4 separate regions of the Homo sapiens genome follow, and all the other regions are linked to region 2. Evidence: promoter capture Hi-C in 16 types of primary human blood cells and fetal thymus (Javierre and others, 2016). All regions are on one chromosome and are shown on one strand. Each heading gives the region's core, a stretch centred on a gene start or on the middle of the fragment in contact. The rest is flanking DNA. Distances are from core to core; before and after follow the strand shown.

The links. The method cuts DNA at HindIII sites, captures the fragments that hold promoters and counts their contacts. A CHiCAGO score of 5 or more calls a contact.
Region 1: a contact is called between a fragment that was not itself captured here and the fragment with the promoter of FBXW2 in region 2, in 1 of 17 cell types (activated CD4 T cells). The highest score is 5.4, in activated CD4 T cells.
Region 3: a contact is called between a fragment that was not itself captured here and the fragment with the promoter of FBXW2 in region 2, in 3 of 17 cell types (total CD4 T cells, naive CD4 T cells and non-activated CD4 T cells). The highest score is 6.7, in total CD4 T cells.
Region 4: a contact is called between a fragment that was not itself captured here and the fragment with the promoter of FBXW2 in region 2, in 7 of 17 cell types (non-activated CD4 T cells, activated CD4 T cells, naive CD4 T cells and 4 more). The highest score is 10.6, in non-activated CD4 T cells.

The regions. Positions count from the first base shown.
Region 1 is chr9:121,020,981-121,025,303 of GRCh38, reverse strand. It overlaps C5 (complement C5), which reads left to right. Exons shown (of 41, transcript NM_001735.3): 10 at 1,785-1,900; 11 at 3,610-3,795. Among named protein-coding and RNA genes, the nearest start is that of C5, 27 kb to the left of the region's middle. The HindIII fragment of the contact is 2,092 bases long and covers 839-2,930 here.
Region 2 is chr9:120,790,901-120,794,951 of GRCh38, reverse strand. FBXW2 (F-box and WD repeat domain containing 2) reads left to right here and starts at 1,536. Exons shown (of 8, transcript NM_012164.4): 1 at 1,536-1,598; 2 at 1,695-1,803. B3GALT9 (beta-1,3-galactosyltransferase 9) reads right to left here and starts at 1,485. Exons shown (of 3, transcript NM_001386823.1): 1 at 1,030-1,485. RefSeq lists enhancers at 523-612, 1,043-1,142, 1,205-1,835. The HindIII fragment of the contact is 2,176 bases long and covers 187-2,362 here.
Region 3 is chr9:120,961,645-120,965,576 of GRCh38, reverse strand. C5 (complement C5) reads left to right here. Exons shown (of 41, transcript NM_001735.3): 34 at 1,839-1,941; 35 at 2,610-2,684; 36 at 2,801-2,906. Among named protein-coding and RNA genes, the nearest start is that of C5-OT1, 11 kb to the right of the region's middle. RefSeq lists a silencer at 2,103-2,286. The HindIII fragment of the contact is 2,071 bases long and covers 520-2,590 here.
Region 4 is chr9:120,987,931-120,992,074 of GRCh38, reverse strand. It overlaps C5 (complement C5), which reads left to right. Exons shown (of 41, transcript NM_001735.3): 23 at 795-884; 24 at 2,295-2,507; 25 at 2,954-3,029. Among named protein-coding and RNA genes, the nearest start is that of C5-OT1, 37 kb to the right of the region's middle. The HindIII fragment of the contact is 2,287 bases long and covers 582-2,868 here.

The DNA of each region.
Region 1 (4,323 bases), core at 635-3,134, 230 kb before region 2:
ACTTTTATATAGTTATAAAAAGGCAGTAGGGCTCTGCTTCTTTTTAGTCATTGGACAAGCCATTGGGTCCCTATTACCTCCACTTCTACTGCAAAAATGGGAAAACAGTACCCAATTCATGTCCAAAGTAGTTCTGCAGGCTCTCTGCCTTGACCATTTGGCACCCTAGTGTCCTCACGTGGTGAAAATCAAAACCAAAATAAGATTATGTGTGTAAAACTATTTGATAAAGTACTATACAAATAAAAGTTATTACTATTATCATTATTATAGTCTACATAATGATGGAGTCAAACTGAATGTTTCCTAAAGCCTAAAGTTTTCAACATTATTTTAATGTTTCTTCTTTTTATTTTTTCCTCAACTTATTTTAAATAAGTTCAGTTTAAGCAGTATCTATGAGATATTTAAAGTATTGCCAAACAGACAGGCTTGCAAACATTAATGATGTATGATGCCAGCACTAAAGTGGCTTACAAATTAGCATCAGGTATAAGACAGGTGAAGAAAGAACTGTTGCAAGAAAGAATTCCATATGAGCTCTAAGCAAAATATTAATGCAATAGGATTCAGAGGAAGGTGAGCTTCTAGATGATTGTTGAGCAAGCAAGAACAGTGTTGTGAAGATGATCAGTCTTGAAAAATAATTAGGGTTTTGAGGCAGAGTTGCTAGACAGGGTGAAATAGAAACCCTCCAGAGAGAGGGCAGATGAAGAAGAGTAGATGGTGAAGCTTAATCTTTGAGGACAGCAGATCATCCAGTTTGGCTAAAATATAGGATATGTATAGAATGTATTAGAGATGTAATATTGGAAAGGAGTTTGGGAATATTAAAGCTTCAAATGTTATTCTTAATAGTTTAACTTAATCTTTACCTGGAGGATAACATTATTGGGCTCTTGCCAGTTGTCTGGTCATGTCCCCTTCCCTCCCCCTCCCCCCTCCCGCTCCCCTCCCTCCCCTCCCCCTCCCCTCCCCCTCCCCTCCCCCTCCCCCCTCCCGCTCCCCTCCCCTCCCCCTCCCCTCCCCCTCCCCCCTCCCACTCCCCCCTCCCCCTCCCCCCTCCCCTCCCCTCCCTCCCTCCCCTCCCGAGTCTTGCTCTGTTGCCCAGACTGGAGTGCAGTGGTACAGTCTCAGCTCAATGCAACCTCCGCCTCCTGGGTTCAAGCAATTCTCCTGCCTCAGCCTCCCGAGTAGCTGAGATTACAGGCATATACCACCATGCCTGGCACTTTTTTTGTTTTCGTTTTTTAGTTTTAGTAGGGATGAGGTTTCACCATGTTGGCCCGGCTGGTCTCGAACTCCCTTTCAGGGTTCTTTCTATATCAAGCTCCCTTTTTCTGATTTCTCTCTATGTATCTATGCTCTGTGAACACCAACCCCCATCCCCCACCTCCACTTCTGTAAGGCTCAGTTTCTGGCCTGACCCTTCCCTCTCTCCTCAATCCCTTGAATACAGTCAACTGAAACTCAGGCCACTGATGAAAAGTGGTGTCCCTTCCTGGCATCCTTCCTCAGTCCAGTCCTGTAGCTCTACTTCTCCAAGGGCTTCTCTACATACGAGCTTGTGCATAAGGCCTTGGAAACTCCTGAGGTCTAAACTCTTCTCTGCTGTGCCCCTCTGAAGCAAGACCTATGTCCTACTTACTACTGGTAAATGAATGAATGCAAGAATGGAGTGAGTGAATGAATAAGTCTGTGGAGACATATAGAGATGAAATGGATATCCATACAGATCATGATACTCCTAAAAACTGTCAACATGATGCTTGCCATTTCCTTAGGTGGATTTTCTGAAGAGGCAGAAATACCTGGCATCAAATATGTCCTCTCTCCCTACAAACTGAATTTGGTTGCTACTCCTCTTTTCCTGAAGCCTGGGATTCCATATCCCATCAAGGTAGATTGGGTGAGGGGGTAGACGTTGCTACATATGATCATCTTGTTCTGTTCATGGAAAACATGTGGGTGGCAAACAGGGTAAGAATGTTGCCATGAAGTCACAGAGGGAGCTTATTCTGTGAAACCTGCCCCTCCTGGTGGACACAGACAGGGATGGGAAATTGAAGGTCAGCTGCAGCCTTGGCAATGACTTCAAAAGTGAGGGCAAGATAGCCTTGTATTAGGCATCCCTAAATAAGCATTAAATTACATGTAATAAATAAGCATTAAATTATATGTAAATAAAATCTCATAAGACTCTAGTTCAAAAATACAAACATTTAAAATTATTTGGTGGCAAATTCTTAAAAAGCCTTAAGATGGAGATATCATTCCTTGAAAATAGACTCCTTTCTCTCACTATGTTTTTGCCTCCAGTGTGTCTCATTTGTTTCCCTCTGTCTCTGTGTTGTCTTTGTGCATAACTCTGTTCAATCTCTCGTCTCTGTATTGCTCTCTGTTCTTTTCATTTTTGCTTCTTTCCGTCCCTGAATCTCTTTTTTTCTGTCTTTTTTGCTTACTCCTCTGCATTCATTTTTCTCTCTTTCACCTTCTTTTCCTCCTCTAAATGCTGACAGTATAGAATTGAAACATTCATGTGGTTTTTAGATTTTTATCTATCATTATATATTTTATTACAAATAATATATTTTATTATGTTGATTAAATGGAAATGTTTATTCCCTGCCCTTAATTTAGAAATCCAGAGCAAAATTTTTTTTTGTTCTTTGAAAATGTGTTACTTTTTAAAATCAACTTAAGTACAATCAAAATGTGTTATTTATTATTTACTGTGGGTCATGGGCTTTTAAGAAAAAAAAGGATTTACCAAGCCCAAAGCAAGGTTTGGACATGCTTGTAGGTTCTTACATATATATACTATATATAGAAAATAATATATAACAAAGTATCATATAATGCATATACAGTAATATATAATATATATACTAAAATATGTAAATATAGCAATATTATATAGAACATAAGCTTAAAATATGTTTATATAAAAGTAAAATAACAAACTATATCTGTGTGGAATTGTGTGTGTATATATATATATATATGGCAGTGAGAGGTAGATGTTAAAGGAAAAAAGGTGTATCTATTTTTGTTTCTCATATTCAAGGGACTTATTCCCAGAAGCGATTGCCTCATTTTCTCCTTTATCCAGTCCTAAACCAATCAAAGAAATACAGAAGTTAGATAGCAGAAGACCTTATCACACCTACTCCTTGACTGACTTAATAGAATGATATTTATGTTTTGAGTTTGCTTGATTTATGGGAGAATCTATTCAAGAATGATTTAACTAAATAGAATTAAATCTTTCTATAAGCTGAGAATACACTTCTCTTTACTAAATTAAACATAAGTAAACCAGGTGTGGTGGAGCATGCCTAAATAGTTCCAGCTACTTGGGAGGCTGAGGTGGGAGGATGGCTTGAGGCCAATAGTTCAAGGTTGCAGTGCGCTATGATTGTGCCTGTGAATAGCCACTGCACTCCAACCTGGGCAACGTAGTAAGTCTCTGTCTCAGAAAAAAAATTTTCAGAAAAAAATACATAAATAATTTATACTTTGGTGGGGAGGAAGGAAAATTATTTCAGAATTGTGCTTTAAAATAAGTGATGAGCTGTTGAAATAGATTTGGATTGTTTTGACAAACAGGTGCAGGTTAAAGATTCGCTTGACCAGTTGGTAGGAGGAGTCCCAGTAACACTGAATGCACAAACAATTGATGTAAACCAAGAGACATCTGACTTGGATCCAAGCAAAAGTGTAACACGTGTTGATGATGGAGTAGCTTCCTTTGTGCTTAATCTCCCATCTGGAGTGACGGTGCTGGAGTTTAATGTGAGCTGAATTCTCCTGTTGTATTTTCTAGGACAATGTGTACTCTTGACCATGTGTTTTGGCTAGTGTGCAGAACAGATGCGGCAGATTTTACACATGAGTCCAGTGAACAGTTCCATAATTTTGCATCCAAGACAAATTAGTCCCAGAGACAATCTGCTAATCCATTGAATGGTCCTTGAGGAAGATAAATGTATCAATTTTTTATTTGGGAGTTAATTGTTTTATCTTACACCGTTAAGACCATATCAGACTCTAGAAGCTTCAGAATAGGTATAGCAGTGCACATGAGTGTTAGGAATATCCTCTCTTCCCCCCTCACTTTTAATCCCCTGAAGGGCCACAAAAGGGTCAAAAATATGGAAGCCTCCCTTTTTTCTAACTACAGAAACCATTCTACTTTAGAGCCCACTTAATAGTCTTCTCTCGCAGCAAATATTATTTAAGTTCCCAATCTCAAATAAAATATGAGCAATAACATAGTAACATAGTTACAAAGTAACTTAGTAACATAATAACATAGGCCAA
Region 2 (4,051 bases), core at 287-2,786:
TTATTGGACTGTGCTATCAAGCATGGTAGCCATTAGCCTCATGTGGCTATTAAATTAAAATTAAATAAAATTAAGAATTTAGTTCATTTACATCAGGTACTTTTCAAATGTTCAGTAGCCACAAGAGACTAGTGACTGCCTTATTGGACAGCACCAACAGAACAACTCCATCACTGGCAAAAAGCTTATTGGACAGTGTTGGTATAAGATGTATGTGAATGTGCGTGTATGCATGTATGGCTTAGGAACCCTTACAGAGAAACAAGGATAACTTGTGCGCTGGGCATTGTGGTTCACCCCTGTAATCCCAGCACTTTTTGGGAGGCCCAGGCAGGTGGATCACTTGAGCCTAGGAGTTCAAGACCAGCCTGGGTAACATAGCGAAACCCTGACTCTACAAAAATACACACACACACACACACACACACACACACACACACACACAACTAGCTGGGCATGGTGACACGCGCCTGTGGTCCCTTCTACTCAGGAGGCTGAGGTGGGAGGATCGCTTGAGCCTGGAGAAGTCGAGGCTGCAGTGAGCCAAGATCGTGTCACTGTACTCCAGCCTGGGCGACAGAGTGATACGTTGCCTCAAAAAAAAAAAAAGGATAACTTGTGCTCTGAAGTCGGTTTGGGTTGAAATCCTATGACAGCCATTTACTATGACCTTAGGCAAGATGCCTAAACCTCTTTTGATTTCAGTTTCCCCATCTCTAAAAAGGGGCCTAATAATAGTTACTAGCTTGTGGGGTTGTTGTGGGAACTGAGTGAGATGGTACACAAAAAATGTTGAGAAAGAGTGCGTGGGATTTTTTAGCTCAGTTTTAGTTCTTGACGCCAAAAGGTTTGCATGCTTCATTTCCTTCAATCCTCAGAGCCTTCGGATGGGGACCTCACTATAATTGCTATGCAGATGAAGCAAAGTCTGAGAGGTTAAGTAACCGGGCCACAGCCAGAGTGTAAACGTTGTGATTCATTCAAATCTACATCACTTGACTGTCTCTTTTCATTCAACAACCTCCTTACCTTGCTTTATTTTTCTCCTTTGCACGAGCCTTAGTTTATCTGTCTTCCTCCTCCTAATAGATGTAAGGCCCAGGCGGTCAGGGGCTTTTGCGTTTTTTGTTCACTAACCCTATCCCCTAGAACAGCGTTCGGGATAAAGAGGTGCCCAACAGGTTGTATGAATTTGGACACGTCTCTTAACTTCTCTAAGCCACAGCTCCCTCTCCTCCGTAAAATGAGGATAATAAGAAAAACTACTGCAGAGCTGGTGCAAGATCAGATTGGAGGAGGGACATAAGCGCGCTGTGCAAACCTGGATGTACGGTACGAAAGGAACCTCCGTTCTAGGTTGCACCCAGCCTAAGCACCGTGAGGGCCGCGCGGCACGCGTTCAGCTTCCCGGGACGCTCTTCTCCCCACCCCTACTCCCGGCCTCCAGCCTCCCACCACCCACCTCCGGGCGGGGACCGGAAGTGCAGCCGCTTCCGCCGGGAGCCGCGGAGCTGAGGGACGCGCGGAGATGACGCAGGCAGCACCGGAAGCCGCTCCCCTGTGAGGCTGCGGACCGGGAGCAGCGGCCGCAGGTCCGGGTCTGTATGCGAGGCGGGGCCGGTCGGGGAGGGGACTCTTAGGCGCCCGCGGCTCTGCTGACCCGCCGCGCCTTGGCTGTTTTTCTTTCCCTGCAGGCGCCATGGCTGCGGAGCGGACCCGGCCGCTGCAAGGCTCTGGCGGTCCGAGCGTGCCTAGTAGCTGTGAACCCGGCGCGAGGTCCCGGGCCCCGGGGCGCTCGCTCAGGTCAGTGCCGCGCGGAACACGATTCCGAGAGCAAGGGACCTGGGAGCAACGAATGGGTTGATGGGATCTGGATTTTAGAGACGGGAAAACAGGGTTTTGGAGTTACTGCCTCCTACTGCCTCCATTTCCTTAGCTGCGAAATGAGTTAACAGTGATGTCCCAGGGCTACCAAACGTTTGAAAGACGATGAAGTGTGATGAGGTGGTTTATGAAGTACAAAGCGCTATACTGCGCCATAATTGTGGGTATGCCATGAAAACAGGTGTGTATGTGGGGTGCTGCTTGAAGTAAAGCAAAGATAACAATATTAATGCTAAGTAATAATGGTAACTGACATTTACTGTAGGCTTACAGCGTGCCGAGTACTGTGCTAAACGCTTTACTTGCACTGTCTTGTTTAACCCTCATAAAAACCCTTGTAGGTAATGCTCTTGGCTGTATTTTACAAGTGAGGAAACAGGGCATGAGACAGGTGAAGTGATTTGCCCAAGGTCACCCAGCAACAAGTGGAGTTGCAGAACACATATTTTATAAACATTATTTGTATTCTTTCAAAGCTTTAAAAAAATTCACCTTAAAACTAAAGGCTATTTTTTGATAGTATATTATACTTAACATGGTTTTCAGTTTTAAAAGGTATACAATAAAAAGGGACCCCTCATTCCTATTCTGCAGCTCTCCAGTTCTCTCTGGAGGCAACCAGGGTTATCAGTTTCTTGAATATTCAGAATACATTTTATGCATATGTAAGTTTATAGGTGTGTATACATTTTCAGCGCCTCTGTGCTCTTTGTTTGATAAGAAAAGGGGGAAATGAAGCCTCCTTCCCTCTACCACTAACAATTATGTTGCTTTCACTCTTGACTAGGCCAGGTTCTGATAGAGGAGGAGGGGAAAACACATTTACACTGTTTTCCAGAAGGTCCTGTCTCTAATACCTCTGAGTATAGGTTTTGGGAGAATGGGTACTGGGCAAAATATTGAGCCTGCTACTTCCTGTGCCATTCTGGGAAGGCCACTCCACTTCTTGAGCCGTAAATTTCCTCATTAATGTTAGTTAAGGGCGGCATTACTGATACCTTCCATGAGGTTATGAAGATGAAATGAGATAATGTTTACCAGTGGTACTTTTTCTTTAAAACCAATATAAATATGTGAGTTGCCTAGGTAACATAGGGAGTTAATGGCAGAACCTGAGACCAAACCCAGGCTCTCATTTTCCAATTTAGGAGTCTTTTTGTTGCATGACCCACTTTGTGATTATTGATACTGAAGGCAAGAGGGCAAGTTGAATGTTAACTCTGGGGTAGGGACGTAGGGTAAGGGGGCCAAACAGCAGGGAATGTGGGTAGAATAAGGCACCTACTGGGAAACTAGAGCCTCCAATAAACAGGTGCTCTTCTTTATAAAATTAAACCCCTAGTAAGTTTGAGCCCTTGAGTTTTTCTTCCAGGTATTTTGAAGAGAAACTTAGTGATAAGATGATAGGGTCAAAAGAGATGTTAGTGGTCATGTCCATTCCACCCTTAGTGTCACAGAAATCTTTACTGCCAGGTGTTCATAGTAGTAAAACTAACAAAAAGTACCATTTGAGTTTTTACCCGCTAGACTGTACACTGTGCTAAGCATGTCCCTGCTATATTTCTGAGTTTCACCCTTCAAGTTGGATGATGGCTTCCATTTTACAGATGATAAAACTGAAGCTTAAAAGTTAGTTGGACATGCCCATAATCACATAGGAAGTGGCTGAATCAGTAAAACATCTGGCCAACCTCCAAAGTATTTTCATTTATCACATTCTGCCTCTGTGTCCAACTGTCCTTGACTGTTCGTGGTAATGGGAAACTCACTACTCTGGAGGTAGCTATTCCATTGTTGGAAAGCGCTGAGATTTAAAAGCTCCTCATGTTGAATTGAAATCCCATTTCCTGAGGTTTGTGCAACCAGTGTATGATATTTCTAGAGGCTGCCTAAAAGAGTCCAGTTTAGACCTGTTACCTTAGAAGGCCCCCTCCAAAGTTAGTTGATCTGTTCAGAAAAGTAAAAATTGGTGTTTTTTAAATAGTGCATTCTGCAGTTAGTGAGACTTGCTTTTTTAGGGAAAAAAATGCCTTTTTCAGAATAATCAGAGGTGAACTGCTCAATCTTACAAGGGATTGAGTGGTTTAAAAGGCAATCTAAGAGTTGGGAAAATTTTTTTTATTAAGAGTTAGGAGAATATATAAATCTGAGACATGGCTGAATTTTT
Region 3 (3,932 bases), core at 306-2,805, 170 kb before region 2:
ATGGGGACTGCTTTTATTTATTTATTTATTTATTTATTTATTTATTTATTTATTTTTGAGGCAGAGTCTTGCTCAGTTGCCCAGACTAGAGTGCAGTGGTGCGATCTCAGCTCACTGCAACCTCTGCCTCCCAGCCTCAAGCCATTCTCGTGCCTCAGCCTCTTAAGTAGCTGGGATTACAGGTGTGAGCTACCACAGCCAGCTAATTTTTGTATTTTTAGTAGAGAAGTGGTTTCACCATGTTGGCCAGGCTGGTCTCGAACTCCTGGCTTCAGCTGATCTGACTCAGCCTCTCAAAGTGCTGGGATGACAGGTGTGAGCCACCGCACCCAGCTGGGACTGCATTATATATGCTCTATGAGGTGTCATTGAGGAAAAGATATGCCCTGACCCCTCACTAACTTGCTTAGTATCTCCTCTTCCACCAACATTCATACCTGTAGGTGAGATCAATTCATTTTACCCCTTATGAAGCTGTCTTTTAATTTCTTCCTTTAATCCTGACTGCTCTCCCAAGCTTCACTCTCAAACATCCAGCTGCCTTTCAAGCATCTTGAGGTGAGGCTGGAACCTGAAATCAACTTTTACAGAATCACACTCCGTCTGTCTCTGCCCCAGCCTCAGCCCCGCCAGCCTGTCTCTTTTATGTCTTCTAACATCTCTTAATGGTAGCTCTAAGCCTCTGCCACCCAAAACCAAAGCCTGGGAATTATAAAGATAAATTTAAAACACAAACTTATACTTCTTCACAGTTAATTTTACAAATAAGAAAATGAGCTTAGAAAGGGGAAATGATTTGTGGGAATCTCAGAACTGGAATAAAACCCAAGTTTCCTGATTCTCCATTTCAGTATTCTTTTCTCTCTTACAAAACAAAAACAAAAACAAAACCCTCCCATTGTGCCCTTTTTGCATTTCCGCTTAAATTCCTACTAGCAGAATTCCTACTGAAAGGACAGTCCTTGAAACATTTTCTATATAAAGTAGCTATTATGGGAAATATAGAAAATAGAGAAAAGCATGAAAAAGAAAAGAGATAATTGCTTATAATCTCACCATCCAAAGTAGCTACTAATATTTGTGGGTTTGTTTGTTTGTTTGTTTGCTTTTAAAGAGGGATTCTCACTCTGTCGTCCAGGCTGAAGTGCAGTGCTGCGATCTCGGCGCACTGCAACCTCCGCCTCCCAGGTTCAAGCAATTCTCCTGTAGTTAGGATTACAGGTGTGTCCCACCAAGCCCGGCTAATTTTTTTTGTATTTTTAGTAAAGACGGAGTTTCACCGTGTTAGCCAGGCTGGTCTTGAACTCCTGACCTCAAGTGATCTGCCTGCCTTGGCCTCCCAAAGTGCTGGGATTATAGGCGTAAGCCACCGTGCCTTGCCTTAGTGTATTTTCTTCCAGCTTTTCCTGGACATGTTTATTGAATCTCTTTTCAACATACAACTGATTTTTTCCTTGGAATATGCTTCATTAGAAAATGAACTAACGTGAGAATCCAAAGACCTGGATTCTTCTGTAGCTCTGCATGAATTAGCCATGTGACCTTGAACCAGTGCCTTACTCTCATCCTGAGTTTCCCCAGCTAGTTAGCTTGGTGTGGATGACTTCTGTGTTCCAGTAGAGTGGTCTGTTGAGATTATTGATCAAGTGAGGAAAGAGAATAGATGACTCAAAGATCTCTTGCAACTCTAAAGTCAGAGATTTTAACCCATACATTGTAGAAAAGCAAATAAATGGAGACCCAAATTTAAAAATTAAGGTCTACTAAGGAAGAGTGTCCTTTCTTAAAGACTCTTATTCACTTATTTATTATATTTTCTAACCTCTTTTTTATTTTAGCTACAAGCCCAGCAGGGAAGAATCATCATCTGGATCCTCTCATGCGGTGATGGACATCTCCTTGCCTACTGGAATCAGTGCAAATGAAGAAGACTTAAAAGCCGTATGTGTTTTCTTTTAAATCGTGTTGTGAATGCTTCATTTTCTTTTCTGAATTATTTTATAGACAATTTTACTTTCTTTCATTTGAATATACCACTTTTATAGAATCACCCAGAATATTTTTTTTTTTTTGGAGGTGGATTTTCACTCTTGTTGCCCAGGCTGGAGTGTGATGCAGTCTTGGCTCATTGCAACCGCACCTCTCGGGTTCAAGTGATTCTCCTGCCTCAGCCTCCCGAGTAGCTGGGATTACAGGCATGCACCACCACACCTGGCTAATTTTTTTGTATGTTTAGTAGAGACGAGGTTTCTCCATGTCAGTCAGGCTGGTCTCGAACTCCTGACATCAGGGTGATCCACTGGCTTTGGCCTCCCAAACTGCTGGGATTACAGGCGTGAGCCACCAGGCCTGGCCAGAATATTCTTTTCAAAACATAATTAACCTAAGTTTTGATTTATCAAAGTGAAGCAGAAGCATACACTAGCATGCTCTGTAAAATATGAGTTTATATGCTAATGTGTTCAGACTTTTTCAAGAAGAGGAACTGCTCTTCAATTTCTTTGAATTACAGATCACATCCCTGCATTGTGCTATCTCATCAACAGGTGAATGCATTTAAACAAAAAGATAATGAAATGAAATTCAAGCTTCTCTCTTTTCCCCCTTAGCTTGTGGAAGGGGTGGATCAACTATTCACTGATTACCAAATCAAAGATGGACATGTTATTCTGCAACTGAATTCGGTAAGCTCCACCTGCAACCATTTTTCCTTTACTATTACTATTCAAAATATACAGGCTAAAAGATTATAAATATCATCTCTCCATAATTTCCTTAAATCCTTGAATTTGTTAAACAGATTCCCTCCAGTGATTTCCTTTGTGTACGATTCCGGATATTTGAACTCTTTGAAGTTGGGTTTCTCAGTCCTGCCACTTTCACAGTGTACGAATACCACAGACCAGGTAATCAACTCCATGCTAACATTTCTTCAGAAGAATACTTTGTATTCTTTCCAGAACATTTAGAAATCCACTAGAGTCCTGTAAATTTTATGTATTGCCTCTCTTAGGGACCACTCTTCATGAAAGTCCCAATTTGAACATTCAAAACTACTGCATACAAAATATTGTACATAAACTACTTCTTGACATTGAGCAGACCGTTTCACCTCAGTCCTCAGTTTCTTCATATTTAAAATAACTGGATTATAGTGCCTCCAACTTCAATATTCTTTGCCTCAGGTTTATCTATGGTGTTCACAGATAAATCATATCTCTCCTTTTGAGAGAAATCAACTCAATCCCCCCAGAACAACTTCTAGCCCATCTATATTCTTGTTACACTTTGCAGATAGCTCTATTATAGCAGCTGTCACATTGCATTCAATTATTTGTATGTCTTTTTCATCAACCCCAGGGTGTTTTCATTCTTGTGTCCCTAGTATCTAACGCAGCGTCGGGTATAGAATGTGAACTCAATAAATATTTATGAATGGGTGATCCCACATTTGACTATTCAGCCATTTTTGAGAATGTTATGTGGTTGGAGAGCTTATTGGATCACAAGACAGATGACTCCACCTTGGGCAGTTCTACTTGTTAGAAAATTCTTGAAGTGAACCAAAACTCTGACACCCATTCATTCTAGTTTTATATTCTGAAATCACATAGAACATACATAGTCCCTCTTCCCCTTGAGATAGATATATAGAGATACATAGATATATGCTTTTCTTCCCTTGTCCACCCTAAACAATTCCAACTCTTTCAAAAGATCCTCATGCAACATAATTTATTTTCCTCTTACTTAGAGAAGCATCAAATGTTTTATTTCTGAGAAACGAGTGTTTCAAGCACAGAACTAAGTGAAAAAGGGGAGATCTTTCTGAGGGTAGCGGAACCCTTCCCAGGACAGCCAATTCATAATTTTACCTCCCTGGGCCTTAGCTATAAAAAGAAGGGTTTAAAATAAGCAATCTCTGAGGCTCC
Region 4 (4,144 bases), core at 476-2,975, 200 kb before region 2:
CAGGACAATGGGAGGTGGATTCTCTTTGTGGTGACTAGTGTGGGCTCTGCAGCAAAACTTCTGGAGTTCAGATTGCAGCTCCACTTGTATTGTTTCTGGGACCTTGAACACGTTACTTTCTAAGCCTCAATTTCCTCATCTATAAAATTAAACTAATGAAAATAGACCTAACATAGAGGACTGTTGTGAGAATCCAATGCAATAATTCATTTAAAGAACTTAGTAGCATGCTTGGTACTCTATCAGTAGAATGATCAATGTTACCTTTTTTTGGACATAAACCAGTGATCACAGTAGAAAAATTATCTGATACCAGTATGCTAAAACTCTGTTGTTTTGCCCATAGATTAAAAAGTATCAAAACTAGACTGGGAAGGGAAGGTGGAAAGAATTTCAGATCATACTTCCCTGTGGAGCTAATGTTCAATATATAGTTGATTAAGAAATTACATGTTAGTTATTCTTAGCTTTCAGTTCCAGGAACAATTTTCTGTCTTTGGGCAAGCTGGCATGCTATATTTTGCTGGTGAATAAGATTTATATAACCTATTTATTTCACATCTTATAATGACCAGGAAGCTTACAGCCAAATTTAATGCTTTATTTAATAAGATTATACAAGCCTAGGGTTTGATTAAAGTCCTTGATGATTTTTAACTTTCTTTTAAAATTTTAATAGTCTAATTATAAGTCTTTTATTTTGAAATATTCTTTGGAAGTAGATACATTATAAATAATCTGCAAACAGTCTTCCCCTGGAAACTCTGTATAAATCCAAATTTTCTAAATTACAGGTACCATTAGCAGACGAAAGGAGTTCCCATACAGGATACCCTTAGATTTGGTCCCCAAAACAGAAATCAAAAGGATTTTGAGTGTAAAAGGTAAATTAACAAATGCCATTTTTATTTCTCATTTCACTTGGTGCTTCAAACAAAAATCAAATATCCTCATGATTATTCTGTTTCTCCACTTCCGTGTTCAGTAGCACACACAAATCTACCTTTAGGAGTGCTCCACCCCTACCCACCCCCACTTTCAAACCTTTAATCACTTTTCCCACTATCTTCTTCCAACGGCCTGATTTACATGGAGATGCATTCTCCTCCAATGGAAGGTAGGGACTGTCATTGGCTCAAAGATGTCTCTAAAATGGGGGTCCAGTTGCTTCTAGACTTAAAGAACTTTCCATGGTCTTAGTGGCCAGTCCCGCTCCAGAGAAGGCCTATGGCCTGCACATGGCCTAGCGAGAACAGCACTGCTCTGCTGAAGTACTGGTCCCAGAAGGGTTGTCTTAGTCCATTTATGCTGCCATAACAAAATAACAAAATTTATAAATAATACAAATTTATTTCTCACAGTTCTGGAGGCTGGGAAGTCCAAGATCAAGGCATCAAGAGATTGGGTGTTTGGCAAGGGCTGCTCTCTGTTTCCATGAGGATATATGTTGCTGTATCCTCCTGTGGCAGAAAGTGGAAAGGCAAAAGGGCAAAAAGGGGTGAAGAACTTCCTCTTACCTCGTCTATAAGATTATTAATCCCACTCATTAGGGTGGAGCCATCATAACCTAATCACCTCTCAAAAAGCCCCACCTTCTAATACTATCACCTTGGTGATTAGGCTTCAGTGTATGAATTTTGGAGAGACATATACATTCAAACCATAGCAGGGATTCTCCTCCCCTCGCATACATTTGCAGAAGTGATATTTGCACAAGTGACTAGGTTTTCCTTAGTCTCCAGGCTTTACAATTCAATAACATATTACCGAATGATAGAATGTCCTGACTACATTTTATCTCAGATAAAACCCTAGAATCACAAAATGTTAGTACTGGAAAGGATCTTTTTGATCATGTGCAACCCTGCTGTTGGATATAAAAGAAAGTGGCATGTCCAAGGTTGCACAGTGAATTATAGACAGTCATGTCAGCACTCCCTGTTCAGGCTCTTTGCTTTGCTTCCTGGAAGGGATTGGTAAATATGGTTTATAATGTCTAAAGCTAACAGGTTGAATGGCAACTAATTTGCCATGTTCTCTTGCAGCAATCAGTCCACTGTATTACATTACCTACCACCATATTTTAGTGATTTTTAAAGTCTTTTTTTTTTTTGTTTCTTTCAAATTCATGTTCCTAACCGGATCTTTTTTTCTCACCCCGTTTCTGAGAAGCAAGTCAACTGCCTAGATAAAAAGGGAAGAACCATCTCTAGATGGTTGTTCTTCTCTCTTGAGAACATACTGTTAGAAGTTAATAAAAAGCAATGTGTCTACTTTGATCTTTTTTGTTTCAGGACTGCTTGTAGGTGAGATCTTGTCTGCAGTTCTAAGTCAGGAAGGCATCAATATCCTAACCCACCTCCCCAAAGGGAGTGCAGAGGCGGAGCTGATGAGCGTTGTCCCAGTATTCTATGTTTTTCACTACCTGGAAACAGGAAATCATTGGAACATTTTTCATTCTGACCCATTAATTGAAAAGCAGAAACTGAAGAAAAAATTAAAAGAAGGTAAAAAAAAAAAGTATTTCACATAAAAATTGGGTGATTCTAAACTAATATTTTTATTAAACTAATATTTAAGTTGTGAATTATAGAAAACTTTGTAAGAGAATTTTAGCAAAAAAATCATGAGATGGACTCTACTATATAAATAAATATTATTTCTGTAGCATTTTGGCTCAACTTACCAAAATGCCTGAATGAGAGGCAAGGCACCTGCATTCCAAACTACAGAACACTTCCTTCCTTTTCGAATGAGATCAGAATGTTCTACTTGATAATTCCCAATTCGAGCAATTCATATACTTCCTTTGAGAAGTTCAATGCTGGCCACAGAGCATATGCTTGCTGCCCAACACCAAAGGAAGCTTACCATTCTCAGGGCCTGATAAAGTGTTCTTTGAGTAGAAACGGAGGTCTGTTAAGCACCGTGTTCTTTTTCTTGTGCTTCTTAGGGATGTTGAGCATTATGTCCTACAGAAATGCTGACTACTCTTACAGTGTGTGGAAGGGTGGAAGTGCTAGCACTTGGTAAGTAGAAGATTTTGAGTTGCATTTTCATATAGTGGTTAATTAACTAAAGAATAATAACCATAATGGAAACTCCATTCCTCCAGTTGCTCAGGCTAAAAGCCTCGTCATCCTTCACTCCTCTCTTTCTCTTACCGTTCACATCTGATCCAGCAGATATGGATTCAAAATATATCCTTAATTTGACTACTTCTCACCACCTCCACCACACTATCCTGTTCCAAGACACCTTCCTCTCCCACCTGGATTCTTACACTAGTCTCCCTTAGTCTTCTGGGTTCAGCCCTTGATCCTCTTCAGTATATACTCAACACAGCAACTGAAGTGACCCTGTTAAAACATATGTTAGATCATGCCACTCAAAACCATTTAGGAGCTTCCCATCTTACCCAGAGTAAAAACCAAACTTTTTATTGTGATTTACAAAGCTCTGTATGATCTGGCTCCACCTCATGTCTCCTACTTTATCTCCTATACTCTCTTTCCCTCCAATTCAGCCCCACTAGCCTTCCTCAAACACACCAGGCATGCTTCCACCTCAGGGCCTTTGCACTGTTTTCTCAGTCTGGAATACTCCTCCTTAGGTGTCAGCATGACTGGCTCTCATATTTCCCTCAGGTCTTTACCAAATGTCACCTTGGGGAGGCCTCTGCTATATCATAATGTCTAAAATTGCAATCCACTCCCCTCCCAACACCTCATATCGTTTCTTTTCTCCTCAGTGTGATTACTAACGTTCTTGCTTATTCCACTATTGTGTATCTCCCCCACTGGAATATAAGCTCCATGCGGGAAGTTCTAAGTATCCCTAGTGCCTGGTACCTACCTGGCACATAGTAGATGCTCAGTAAGTATTTATTCAATGAAACATATCTTCCAAAATTCTGATGATTTGAGGGAAAGATAGTCTGAATTAATTAAGAGTCCATATGGCAGTCTATTTTCAAAAAATACCGGCTGGGCATGGTGGCTCACGCCTGTAATCCCAGCACTTTGGGAGGACAAGGCGGGCGGATCATGAGGTCAAGAGATCGAGACCATCCTGGCCAACATGGTGAAACCCCGTCTCTATGAAAAATACAAAAATTAGCTGGGCGTAGTGGCATGTGCCTGTA